Regions from separate parts of the Homo sapiens genome. Here all the other regions are linked to region 2. The links are contacts of gene promoters, found by promoter capture Hi-C in human tissues and cell types (Jung and others, 2019). All regions are on one chromosome and are shown on one strand. Each heading gives the region's core, a stretch centred on a gene start or on the middle of the fragment in contact. The rest is flanking DNA. Distances are from core to core; before and after follow the strand shown.

Region 1 (4,470 bases), core at 1,840-4,339, 620 kb before region 2:
TTAAAATATTTTCTCAGAACATCGCCAATGTTTTATATAGCTAATTGCTGTAAGTCTATAAAACCAAGCTTACAGTAGCTCAACACATAGAAGTTGAAATAAGTCAGTGTTGCAGCTTTGCCTTTAGGTTTTTGTTTGTTGGCGTTTTACTTAAAATAATAATTTAAGAGGTAATGAATGCCTGTCCACGTCCATTCCTATCTGGCCTAGTACAATTAATTGGCTACAAATCTTTTGACTTTTTTTTTTTTTTTTTGAAATGGCGTTTTGCTCTTGTTGCCCAGGCTGGAGTGCAATAGCACAATCTCGACTCACTGCAACCTCCGCCTCCCGGGTTCAAGTGATTCTCCTGCCTCAGCCTCCTGAATAGTTGGGATTATAGGCATGCACCACCACGCACGGCTAGTTTTGTATTTTTAGTAGAGATGAGGTTTCCCCATGTTGGTCAGGCTGGTCTCGAACTCTCGACCTCAGGTGATCCACCTGCCTCATCCTCCGAAAGTGCTGGGATTACAGGTGTGAGCCACCACGCCTGGCCAGTCTTTTGACTCTTAAGGCCCTCAGCCATAGGAAGTCCCACCAAGGGACAGGATGGATGGGGGACAGGCAGCCACGCCACCCTGGCAATGCTATGGGACAAAATAAAGATTTGATGGCCTTTGATGTTGCCTCTGGTAAATATTGGCCAGAAGGGGGAGAATGTAAACCAAAAATAAAATTCTAAAGCCCTCCAACCATCTGAATGTACTTTCTCCTCAGTCACGGCTCTTTTAAAATTTAACCTGAGAGACTGTTTCAGACCATGATGGGAAGTGGCAGTGAGACATGCCTTGTTATACGTCTCTGACATTAACATCAGCACAGACTTTGAGTCTGATAAAAAACATTTTACAACCTATTCTCTCTGAAACCTACTACCTAAGGCTTCCTCTGTAAATAAGAATGTGGGTCTCCACAATCCTTTGTCTTAACCTAGACATTCCTTTCTGTTGATCCCAGGGTTTTAGATAAACTCAACCAATTGTCAACCAGGAAAATTTTAAATCTACCTATAAGCTGGAAGCACCCCCCAACACACACCCACAGCTTTGAGTTGTCTCACCTTCCTGGACCAAACCAATGTATTTCTTTCTTTTCCTGTTTTTTTTTTTTTGTTTGTTTGTTTTTGTTTTTGTTTTTTTGAGCAGAATCTTGCTCTGTCGCCCAGGCTGGAGTGCAGTGGCACAATCTCGGCTCATTGCAACCTCTGCCTCCCGGGTTCAATCGATTCCTGTGCCTCAGCCTACCTGGGAGCTGGGATCACAGGCGCATGCCACCATGCCCGGCGAATTTTTATATTTTTAGTAGAGACAGGGTTTTGCCATGTTGGCCAGGCTGGTCTTAAACTCCTGGCCTCAAGCAACCTGCCCACCTCAGCCTCCCAAAGTGCTGAGATTGCAGGCGTGAGGCACTGCACCTGGCCATATTTCTTAAATATACTTGATGGAATTATCATGTCTCCCTAAAATGTATAAAACTAAGCTGCACCCCGACCAGCTTGGGCACACGTTCTCAGGACATCCTGAGGGCTGTGTCACAGGCCATGTTCACTCATATTTGGCTCAGAATAAATCTCTTCAAATGTTTTACAGAGTTTGACTCTTTTCGTAGAGTCAACTGCGAACAAGACAAATTATCTCAGGTTGAGCATACTGTAGTTCATATGACAGACAACGGAATAATCAAAAAGAATTTACTAGAGGCAGCATAATAATGTTTTAATACAGGTTTCTATTTAGCACTTATGAGATTCTGTATTCAAAGATTACAAACAGAAATGTTCTCAGAGCATTGAATTAATGAATGAGGGGGCAGGGATAATCCACGAGGGTGTTGTAGTAGAAGGGAGGAAACCAGGGTGTGTTTGCCCTTCCTAAAAATCTTCAAATAATGATAATGATGATAATTAGATTTTGTGCAGAAATTTGACCTATATAACTTAAAATATATATATATATATATATATAATATGTATATATATCACTTTTCAAACATATATATCTATGTTTGGAAAGTGAATAGCTTATTTTTTTTTAAGAGGGAGTCTCCCTCTGTCACTCAGGCTGGAGTACATTGGCATGATTTTAGCTCACTGCAAACTCCATGCCCCGGCTCAAAGGATTGTCGTGCCTCAGCCTCTGAATAGCTGGGATTATAGGTGTGTGCCACTACACCCGGCTAATTTTTGTATTTTTAGTAGAGATGGGGATTTCGCCATGTTGGCCAGGCTGGTCTTGAACTTCACGCCTCAAGTAATCTGCCTGCCTCGACCTCCCAAAATGCTGGGATTACAGGCATGAGCCACCAGGCCCGGCCAGCAGTTAGCTTAAAAGTGGCACAAATTAAAAACATAATAAATGTTAGTTATTCTGTATTGTTACAATTTAGTGAAATAAGTTTTGTGATGTGAAAGAAGCAGACAAGTAGCTGAAATTCAGTTTGAGAAAATATAAATGTATTGAATAGTCAATTGACATAAAATCATCAACAAAATGTGTTGAAAGCCAATTTGCTGAATCACTGATTTGCCAAATTCACTGGTTTTGTCAAGCTTTAATAGTAATGATAAATAGCTTTACAAACATGTTTACTTTTGGTCATGAAGAAGGCAAATGCTACATTTTGAAGTAGGGAAACCAAAGGACTAAACTTGCTTTTGGACATTAAGTTAATGGAACTTTTAACATTCATTGTATCCAATGAATTCATTGTATCCAATGAATTCATTGTATCCAAAAAGTGGGGAAAAATGTCCCCAAAAGCTGGGAATTTCCTGCCCCCAACCCTGGAAAAAAAAAAAAAAAAAGAACACTTAAGGAAAACAAGATCATTTTACAGAACACTAGAATCTTACACACCTGTTGCTAATGATGTCTTTTTCATTTTAACCAGATAACCATTAAAATCAAATTGCCATGTTGATAACTTTGTTTTGGTCAAAGTGTTTTTTTTTTCCAGAGTCACTTGGAACTCTTCTGTGGCATCTGAAGCAGATGGACGAAGCCAAGAGGGCCGAGAGTATCTCAGCACCTAGAAATGGACAAGGCTGGTTATTAGAACAAAGATTTCGCAGGTGGTGAGTCTCAAAGGCGAAGCTGAATGGTAGTATAATTTTTTTTAAATTTTAATTATTAAAAAATATTTTTTGGAGGGGATAGAGTCTTGCTGTCACCCAGGCTGGAGTGCAGTGGCACTATCTCAACTCACTGCAACCTCCGACTCCCAGGTTCAAGCGATTATCATGCCTCAGCCTCCTGAGTAGCTGGGATTACAGGCATGTGCCACCATACCTGGCTAATTTTTGTATTTTTAGTAGAGACGGGGTTTTGCCATGTTGGTCAGGCCGGTCTCGAACTCCTGACCTGAAGTGATCCATCTGTCTTGGCCTCCCAAAATTCTGGGATTACAGATGTGAGCCACCACTCCTGGTCTGAATGGGAGTTTAATAGTAGTTAGGTCATGAAACTCCCTGCCAGGCATTCTAATACATTCTGACTTTGCTTTGCAGGTGATAATTGGGAGCTATGTATATATTTTTGTTTTGTTTTGTTTTGTTTTTTGATACAGAGTCTCGCTCTGTCGCCCAGGCTGGAGTGCAGTGGCAGGATCTCAGCTCACTGCAAGCTCCGCCTCCCGGGTTCACGCCATTCTCCTGCCTCAGCCTCCCAAGTAGCTAGGAATACAGGCGCCCGCCACCACGCCCGGCTAATTTTTTGTATTTTTAGCAGAGACGGGGTTTCACCGTGTTAGCCAGGATGGTCTCGATCTCCTGACCTCGTGATCCACCTGCCTCGGCCTCCCAAAGTGCTGGGATTACAGGCCTGAGCCACCTCGCCCGGCCAGGAGTTACGTATTTTTAAAAGTTCACCAGAACGTTGATTTTCAGAGACTGCATTTGTGCTATTCACAGCTGCATTGCAGGTCTCAATACATAGCACTCAGTATAAGCTGGGCCCTTACTGTTTCGCGATATTTTGAAAAAGGATTAAGGACTCAGTGGACATCCACCAAAGCCGAGCTTGATAAAGAATCTGGGCCAGGGCCGGGTGTGGTGGCTCACGCCTGTAATCCCACCACTTTGGGAGGCCGAGGTGGTTGGATCACGTGGTCAGGAGTTCGAGACTATCCTGGCTAACAGTGAAACCCCCGTCTCTATTAAAAATGCAAAAAAAAATTAGCCGGGCGTGGTGACGGGCACCTGTAGTCCCAGCTACTCAGGAGGCTGAGGCAGGAGAATTGCTTGAACCCGGGAGGTGGAGGTTGCAGTGAGCCGAGATCATGCTACTGCACTCCAGCCTGGGCAACAGAACAATACTCCGTCTCAAAAAAAAAAAAAAAAAAAAAAAAAAAAAAAAAAAAAGGAAAGAATCTCACACCTGTAAGTAACCCTGCACTTTGGGAGGCTGAGGTGGGCGGATCACCTGAGGTCAA
Region 2 (3,996 bases), core at 1,180-3,679:
GGGAGAAAAGTACAAAACCAAAGAAGCCGCTCAGGCTTCAAAGAGGAGCAAAATCTGGGCATCCATGCGTCTCTCCACCTATTCATTCAATCATCAACCCAGCAACTATTTCCTGATTATTTACTATCTATGCTCCAGGCTCTGGGTAGAAACTATGTTGGGGAGAAAGAGGCAGAGGCCATCAATGTGGTCACCAGGCATGATAAACACCTTCTTGGCATCAAATCACTCTGAAGGACACAGGGAAGGATCAGAGGTTTCTCTAAGCAGGTGTCAGATTCCTAGTTATGTCCCCTCCCTGAACAGCAGTTTTCTCTATAAAATCTAGGGAAGGTCTTATCAGTGGTTCCAAATCCTACCTCCATCCTTGGAAGCTCAAAGACAGCAGCAGAGTTCCAGAGATAATCCCAACTATTTCTTTTGGTGTGGGGGCGGGGGGTACAAAGTTTCACTCTGTTGCCCAGGCTGGAGTGCAGTGGCATGATCTCGACTCACTGCAGCTTCCACCTCCTGGGCTCAAGTGATCCTTCCACCTCAGCCTCCTGAGTAACTGGGACCACAGGCATGCGCCACTACGCCCGGCTAATTTTTGCATTTTTTTGTAGAGATGAGGTTTTGCCATGTTTCCAGGGCTTGTCTGGAACTCCTGGGCTCAAGCAGTCTGTCTGCCTTGGCCTCCCAAAGTGCTGGGATTACAGGTGAGCCATTTGCAAGAACCGTGTACCTACTCTTTAAACAAATAGGTTTAATACTGTTTAAAAATATAAAGGGTACTGTATAGATGTGTTCTTGATGAATGAAAATATGAAGACATGATTGATACATATGCTGTCGTTTGTATTAATAACTGCAAATTGATAGACAAGATGGAGATCTGAGATCCAAGGGCCTCTTGGTTGGTGAAAAAGGGTGGCATTTGGTCATCACTGAAGGCCTTCGTGGTGCGAGCGACCATAGATGTGGTTAGGTGCCCTGCAGGTGATGTGAGTAACTCGTGGAGTGGGTGGCGGGGAAGAGCTGTCCTTTATGGAATATCTTCCGCTTACCAAACCCAAGCTGGGAAGCACACAAATGTCCCCGGCGGCGGGAGGATGACTGCTCCCATTTTACAGAGGAGAAAACAGGCTTGCTCGCAGAGGTTAGGCGTCATGCAGAGGTCATTCCGCTGGACGGTGGCCAAGCTGGCACTCCAACGCTGGGCGGAATGGCTCCAGAGCCAGACTGAAAGTGGGAGAGGTGACTCGGTCCCAGCCAGGCGGTGAGTTCCTCTGGGCTAGGTCCCCGGTGCTGGCGCAGCAAAGACCACCCGGAGAAAGAGACGGTGAAGGCCCCGGGGCTTCCTGGGGCGTCAGGCGGAGGCGGAGGCGGGGGCGGGGCTCCCTCCAGGCAGTCTTGGACTAGCTGAGTTGTCCCAGCGAGATGGGTGACAGCCGCTTTCCCGAGCTCCCCCGGCCCAGGCTGGTGTCCTGGCGACTCGCCAAGGCACCGGGGCGGGCTAGGGCTGGAGCCGGGGTGGAGGAAGAGGGTCGAGAAGCGAGGCGGGCCCAGAGCAGAAATAGGAGAAGGGGGGGGGGAGGGGGCGGGGAGTCTTTCCTGGGGCAGGAACCCGGGCCCCCCTTGGCGCAGCCGGCCCGCAAAGTGATTCTGCAGATGGAAGGAATTAAGTAGGAGGGGGAGGGTCCGATGGTGATAGCGAGAGGAGGGAGTTAGAAGTGTGTGCGTCTGTGTACACGCGTCTGAGAGAGGAGCGGGAGAGACAGGGAGAAACATCAGACCAGACGGAAATAGAAGAAAGGAGACAAGAAGAGTGAGAGAAAGAGAAGGACATACACACACACACACACACACACACACACACGGAGGGCGCCACATACAAGGACGACGGACACAGGAGACTAGTACTAGTCTAAGAGAGAGAGAAAGAAGGAGTATGAGAAAGGAGGGAAAATAGGAAAGGAAAAGTGAGTGAAAAACAATTGCAGAGGATTTGGAAAGAACGAGACAAGAGCGCTGACGACAGAGGGAGACGAAATTGATTAGGCCGGGGCTGCACTGAGCTCCCGGCAGCTCGGGGAGCTGGGTTGGCCGGGCTGGGACGAGGTGGGGCTTGGGCGGGGCCTCGCATGGGCGGGCCCGCGCCGTGCTGCATATGCAGATGAGCCTCACTCCCCTCTCTCCCCACCCCTGACGGTTCATATTCAACGAGACAGCCAATGCAGGGCGAGGACAGTGCCAGGCGGGGCAGGGAGTGGGCGGCGGGGCATCGTGGACCCCACCCCCGGAGCCGCCGCTGGAGGGGTCAGCCGCGAGGCAGATAGCGGATCGCCGGGCGGGGCGGGACGCAGTGGGCGGGGCGGAGGGGCGGGGCCAAAAGTTTCCTGCCCAACTTTCGCTGCCTCCTTCCACCGCCTGCGCGCGCCGGGGCCGCAGTCGGGGGGAGGCGGCGGCAGCGGCAGCGGCTGCGGGCAGCGCGCGGGGCGCAGGGCGCGGGGCGATCACCGTCGGGGCTCGGGAGGCGGGCAGTGGGCACAGGCTCCCCGGTGCCCGCCCCTCCGCTGCGGAGGGGGGCCGCGAGCGGGCGGCCGGGGAGGGGCCGGCACCGCCGCCACAAAATGAGCCTGCTGTCGGCCATCGACACGAGCGCCGCCTCGGTGTACCAGCCCGCCCAGCTGCTCAACTGGGTCTACCTGTCGCTGCAGGACACGCACCAGGCTAGCGCCTTCGATGCCTTCCGGCCCGAGCCGACCGCCGGCGCCGCACCCCCGGAGCTGGCCTTCGGCAAGGGCCGCCCCGAGCAGCTGGGCTCGCCCCTGCACTCCAGCTATCTCAACAGCTTCTTCCAGCTGCAGCGCGGAGAGGTGGGTGCCCCCGCGCGCCCCCGCCCACCGCCCCACCGCCCCACCGCCCCACCGTGGCGGGCCGTTCCCTGTCTGACCCGCTCTTCCTGGCCTGGCGCGGCCCGGCTCCGCATTGCCGGGCCCGGCTTGGCTTGGCTTCGTTCAACTCTGCCAAACTCGCCGCCCGAAGTCCCCGGGGTGCCGGGTGCGCGTCACCTCCCGGCTGAGCCCGGGCTGGAGCAATGCAGGCCGGGGCGGAGCTCTCCCGCCCCCTCTCCCTGCCAGGGCAGCCCTGCTCCAAAGGGGTTGGGGGAGGGAGTTGAGGAGGGGTTGTCTCCGGATTTTCTTCAGACAGCTGGGGTGCGGCCTGGGCGGGGAGCCCCTTCGAAGTGTCCTTCTCACGCCCAACCTTATCCTCGTCCTGGCCACCGCGGGCTGGGACCGAGAGTGCAGATTCTGCTCGGAGCTCCTCTGGAAGGGCCTAAAATCTTTTCTCCGACCTCTGCGGTTCCCGACCCGAAAGGCACCCTGGAGAGCAGTGACTGCCCAGAGGGCTTCTCCTGCTGTTCTCACTCGGGGACCCCAGATACGTCCTCCAGCTGCTCGCCCTCCCCCAGCCACATAGGAAGTGGTTTCTGAGGGCTTGACCCCACAGACTGCGCTGTCCCCAGCCCTCCCAGCCTCGAAGGAAATGAAAGGGAAATCCTCTTGAGCTCTTGGGAGGGGGGCTAGAAAGGGGGGGGGAGAGGTTCCAGCTGCCCAGCGCCTTCTGCAGAAACCTGGGCCGGCTGTGTTGCAAAGTCTGCCTGTTTGGTGGATTCAGTTACAAAGTTGACTGGGCAGCGCCTCTTTGCCAGCAAGATAAATACACAGATCGCCACCACCTCCCAGCCCTTTTTGAAGAGTCTCCAGGGCCTGCCCAGATACCACTCCTTTCCGTGGGCTGGACTCCTCCCCTCCCTCCATTTACTCCTGCCTCATTTGGGAATTTCAGACACCCATCTGTGGCCTTCACTTCCTCCCCTTGTGGGGGTTTTCTCTGCAAAGATGCAAGAGGTGTGTTCGGGGGAGGACACACATGGGGGTCACTTTCCTTCCAGACCTGGGCACACCGGTGAGTTTTAGGAGAGTCAGAGTCCTGAATGGGTTGGGGAGGAAA
Region 3 (4,139 bases), core at 77-2,576, 670 kb before region 2:
CTGTCCCTTGCCTCCCAATTACTTTTGCAATTATTTCAGTATAGACTCGTGGATATTTAGTTTATTCTGCCAGTGATAATTCATGACCAACATCATTTGTCTCATTGCTCCAGTTGTCCCAGGTACAGCCACTGTGAGAGTCTTCAAGTCACCCCCCTGTGTTTGTTTGAAATGCCCTTATTGTATTTTGAGCACTTTCTTTCTGACATAAGATGTTCCAGGATTATTTTATAATTTCACTGACCCCGCCCTATACTTAATCATTTCTCCAAAAAACTCTGCTTCCTTTTTTGAGGGAATGGTATTTAGAAACTAAGATCTGGGTACTGGATGTCCTCATTGTTACTGGGGTGTCACTGCCTCTAGGCCCTCTCAGCAGACAGAGCTAGGGAATATAGGTTACCAACTCTGAAACTATTTTATCGGTATTCTGGGATTGAGCAATTAAGTAAATATATTGTATTTAGTGGGAGGTAGGCTTCTCACTGTCAAAGAAAGAACTACAAATGAAAAGGGAAGGGCAGAGTGAACCCTGTTGTGTTAAATTAGAATAAGAGGCATTGGCATGAGCTCCTCGTATTTAATATATACACAGATTGACAGACATAGAAATAAATATGACCTGGCAATTCCATTCCTAGGCATAAACCTAGCAGAAATGCATGGTCATAAAAAATATGGATAAAAATGATCAAGATGGGTGTGGTGGCTCACGCCTGTAATCCCAACACTTTGGGAGGCTGAGGCAGGCAGATTGCTTGAGTCCAGCCTGGGCAACATGGCGAAACCCCATCTCCACTAAAAATACAAAATTAGCTGGGTGTGGTGGTGCATGCCTGTAGTCCCAGCTACTCGGGAGGCTGAGGTAGGAGGATGGCTTGAGCCTGGGAGTCAGAGACTGCAGTGAGCCGAGATCGTATCACTGCACTCCAACCTGGGGAACAGAGTGAGACCCTAGATAGAAAGAAAGAAAGAAAGAAAGAAAGAAAGAAAGAAAGAAAGAAAGAAAGAAAGAGAGAAAGAAAGAAAGAGAGAAAGAAAGAGAAAGACAGAAAGAGAGGAAGGAAGGAAGGAAGGAAGAGAAAAGAAAAACAAGAATGATCATAGCTGCACTATTATAATAGTCCTAAGCTGGAAACTACTCAAATTCCCATTGACATCAGACTAAAGAATGAATGACCTACCACTACATGCAACATTATGGATGAAAATACAATTGATGAAAGAAATTTTCTCAAAAAATGCTGTATAATACAATTGATATAAAGTACAAACCAAGCAAAATTAATCCATGCCACAAGAACTCAGTATCAATTTCCTGCAAGAGAAATGGGGGGGCTTCTGAGCTGCTGGTAATGTTCTGTCATTTGGTCTGGGTGCTGATTTCATGGGTGTGTTTAATTCTTAAAATGTATATACATGATCCATCAATAAAAAGTTTCTTAAAATATTCATCTCCTTGCCCTAAGCCTCATTTATATCTTTATGTCAACTCAGCTGCTGCACCGACCCCATAAAATGAATACAATAGGACTAACCTCTAAACCTGCTCCGCTTCTCTTCCCTTCCAGACTAGGATTGATATTTTCCTTCCAGGACTGGGACTCTTGTTTAATTTTCTTTTATTCCCTCTTCTTCTTTTTTTTTTTTGAGACGGAGTCTCACTCTGTTGCCCAGGCTGGAGTGCAATGGCGCAATCTCAGCTCACTGCACCTCTATCTCCTGGGTTCAAGCAATTTTCCTGCCTCAGCCTCCCGAGTAGTTGGGATCACAGGTGTGCGCCACCACACCTGTCTAATTTCTGTATTTTTAGTAAAGACAGGGTTTCACCATGTTGGCCAGGCTGGTCTTGAACTCCTAACCTCAAATGATCCACCCCACTTGGCCTCCCAAAGTGCTGGGATTACAGGCGTGAGCCACCGCGCCCAGCTTCCCCCTTCTTTTCACAAGTTTGATTTCTCTCTCTCTCTCTCCCTCTCTTTTCTGCCTAGGACTCTTGATCCAGTCCCACCTGCTGGTGTAGGGAGGGAAGATAGTATAGCCCCAACCAGCTAGGAGGCTGCATAAGTGTAGGGGAGGAAAGTAACTGCCAGGGGCAAGGTAGGAGATGGTGCCATATTCCAGAGTTGAAGGTTAATACCAGCTAATGGTCTTTCCGTTACTGCCTTCCAGGTATTTGCAACAAGGATTAAGGAGGAGAATAAAACTCTAATGCAATAAGCTTCCATCATTTGTAATGAACTAACTTATATTGTCCTTATTGTTAAAAGATTCATTTATTAAAAAGATAAAATCATCAGCCTGGAGTGGCAGCTCATGCCTATAATAGCAGCATTTTGGGAAACTGAGGTGAGAAGATCGCTTAAGGCTGGGAGTTCAAGACCAGCTTGGGCAATATAGTGCAACCCCCTGCTACATCATCATCATCATCATCATCATCATCATCATCATCGTCATTAGCCAGGCATGGTGGCTCATGTATGTAGTTCTAGCTACTCAGGGGGCTGAGTTTGGAGAATCACTTGAGCCCAGGAGGTCAAGGCTTCAGTGAGCCAAGCTTGCATCCCTTCACTCAAGCCTGGGCGACAGAGCAAGACGCTATCTCAAAAAAAAAAAAAAAAGATAAAATCATGACTCTCCAATGGCAGATTATAACTAATTCAAAGGAGAAGTCAGAAAAGCTCAATTATATGGAGCAAAGGAATGTTGAAACACATTCACCAACAGAGCTCAAGCCAGCTTCTTCCAGGGTGGGAAAGGGAAGTCAATTGAACCTCTACTGGCAGGATTAAATGTACAGATCTAGAGCCAAGAATTAGTTTTCATTTCTATCAGTTATCTACATTTTACAAGCTGTAAAATGGCTCCCATGGAATCAAAAGCAGATAAAGTGAAAGGGTGTGCTATAGACAATACTTAATTTTCCATTGAAAGAAAATTTTCCTACACTTTCCCTCTCTTTTGATAAAAAATAATCTCATCTATTCCTGTGTAATTCACCAATAGTAACATATCAAATACACCTATTTATTTCTGGCACCTCTCTTTTCATAAGGGGAAGTAACAAATCTTTTGTGATTTTCAATGGTATGTCTGGGAAAGCTCAGCTATCATTCCTTTTATTTTATTTTATTTCACATTTAGGACTAATTTTGGGAATGCAAAATACAAAATTGTCAGGAGATTTGAATACTTAGTGTAGGATCATAGGCATCTGAGAAGTAGTACTTGCCTACCCATTTGTAAGAGACAATACAACATTTAAAAATAGGCCAGGTGCAGTGGCTCACTCCTGTAATCCCAGCACTTTGGGAGGCCGAGGCAGATGGATCAGCTGAGGTCAGGAGTTTGAGACCAACATGGTGAAAGTCCACCTCTACTGAAAATACAAAAAATTAGCTGGGCGTGGTGGCAGGCACCTGTAATCCCAGCTACTTGGGAGGCTGAGGCAGGAGAATCACTTGAATCCAGGAGGCTGAGATTGCAGTGAGCAGAGATCACATGACTGCACTCCAGCCTGAGCAACAGGAGTGAAACTCTGTCTCTAAAAAAAAAAGAAAATAAATAAAAATAAATAAAAATAAAGATAGAAAATAACATGATCATAAAGAACTTTAGCTCCCTCCTAAATAACAAATCTTGTTTCTTTAAATAACCAAGGGCATAATAAAATCAACATGAAAATCAAAAAATAATTCTGGTAAAACACTGAATCTTTGCTATCTAGGTAGATTTACATAGAAAAAAAGAATAACCCTTCATAGTATAGGTGAAGACAACAAACAGTAAACTAGGGAAACAAGGCCATGAATATTAAACAAAATTTTTTAAGATTGTTAGTAAATTTCATGTGTTAAAATGCATATGATGTGTTTTATATGCATTATATATTATAAAATATTATACATTATATGATAAACCGTATGGTCTTATAAAAGCAAACTTTTATAAGATTTTTTTTTTTTTTTTTTTTTTTGAGACAGAGTCTCCCTCTGTCGCCCAGGTTGGAGTGCAGTGGCGCGATCTCGGCTTCACTGCAAGCTCTGCCTCCTGGGTTCACGCCATTCTCCTGCCTCAGCCTCCTGAGTAGCTGGGACTACAGGCGTCTGCCACCACGCCCGTCTAATTTATTGTACTTT

Evidence for each region. The method cuts DNA at HindIII sites, captures the fragments that hold promoters and counts their contacts. A contact is called where the count stands out against the background at its distance.
Region 1: a fragment that was not itself captured here is called in contact with the fragment with the promoter of ZCCHC24 in region 2 in 1 of the 25 tissues and cell types used here (heart left ventricle).
Region 3: a contact is called between a fragment that was not itself captured here and the fragment with the promoter of ZCCHC24 in region 2, in 2 of the 25 tissues and cell types used here (aorta and liver).

What each region holds. Positions count from the first base shown.
Region 1 is chr10:80,059,461-80,063,930 of GRCh38, reverse strand. It overlaps TMEM254-AS1 (TMEM254 antisense RNA 1), which reads left to right. Exons shown (of 4, transcript NR_027432.1): 2 at 2,998-3,115. Among named protein-coding and RNA genes, the nearest start is that of TMEM254, 17 kb to the left of the region's middle. The HindIII fragment of the contact is 3,519 bases long and covers 1,330-4,470 here.
Region 2 is chr10:79,444,057-79,448,052 of GRCh38, reverse strand. It overlaps ZCCHC24 (zinc finger CCHC-type containing 24), which reads left to right and starts at 2,429. Exons shown (of 4, transcript NM_153367.4): 1 at 2,429-2,858. The coding sequence starts at 2,613. It overlaps LOC105378383 (a long non-coding RNA gene), which reads right to left and starts at 1,812. Exons shown (of 4, transcript XR_946104.4): 1 at 1-1,812. RefSeq lists silencers at 1,997-2,506, 2,517-2,576. The HindIII fragment of the contact is 26,514 bases long and covers 1-3,996 here.
Region 3 is chr10:80,117,175-80,121,313 of GRCh38, reverse strand. No RefSeq gene overlaps it. Among named protein-coding and RNA genes, the nearest start is that of PLAC9, 13 kb to the left of the region's middle. The HindIII fragment of the contact is 5,076 bases long and covers 1-3,864 here.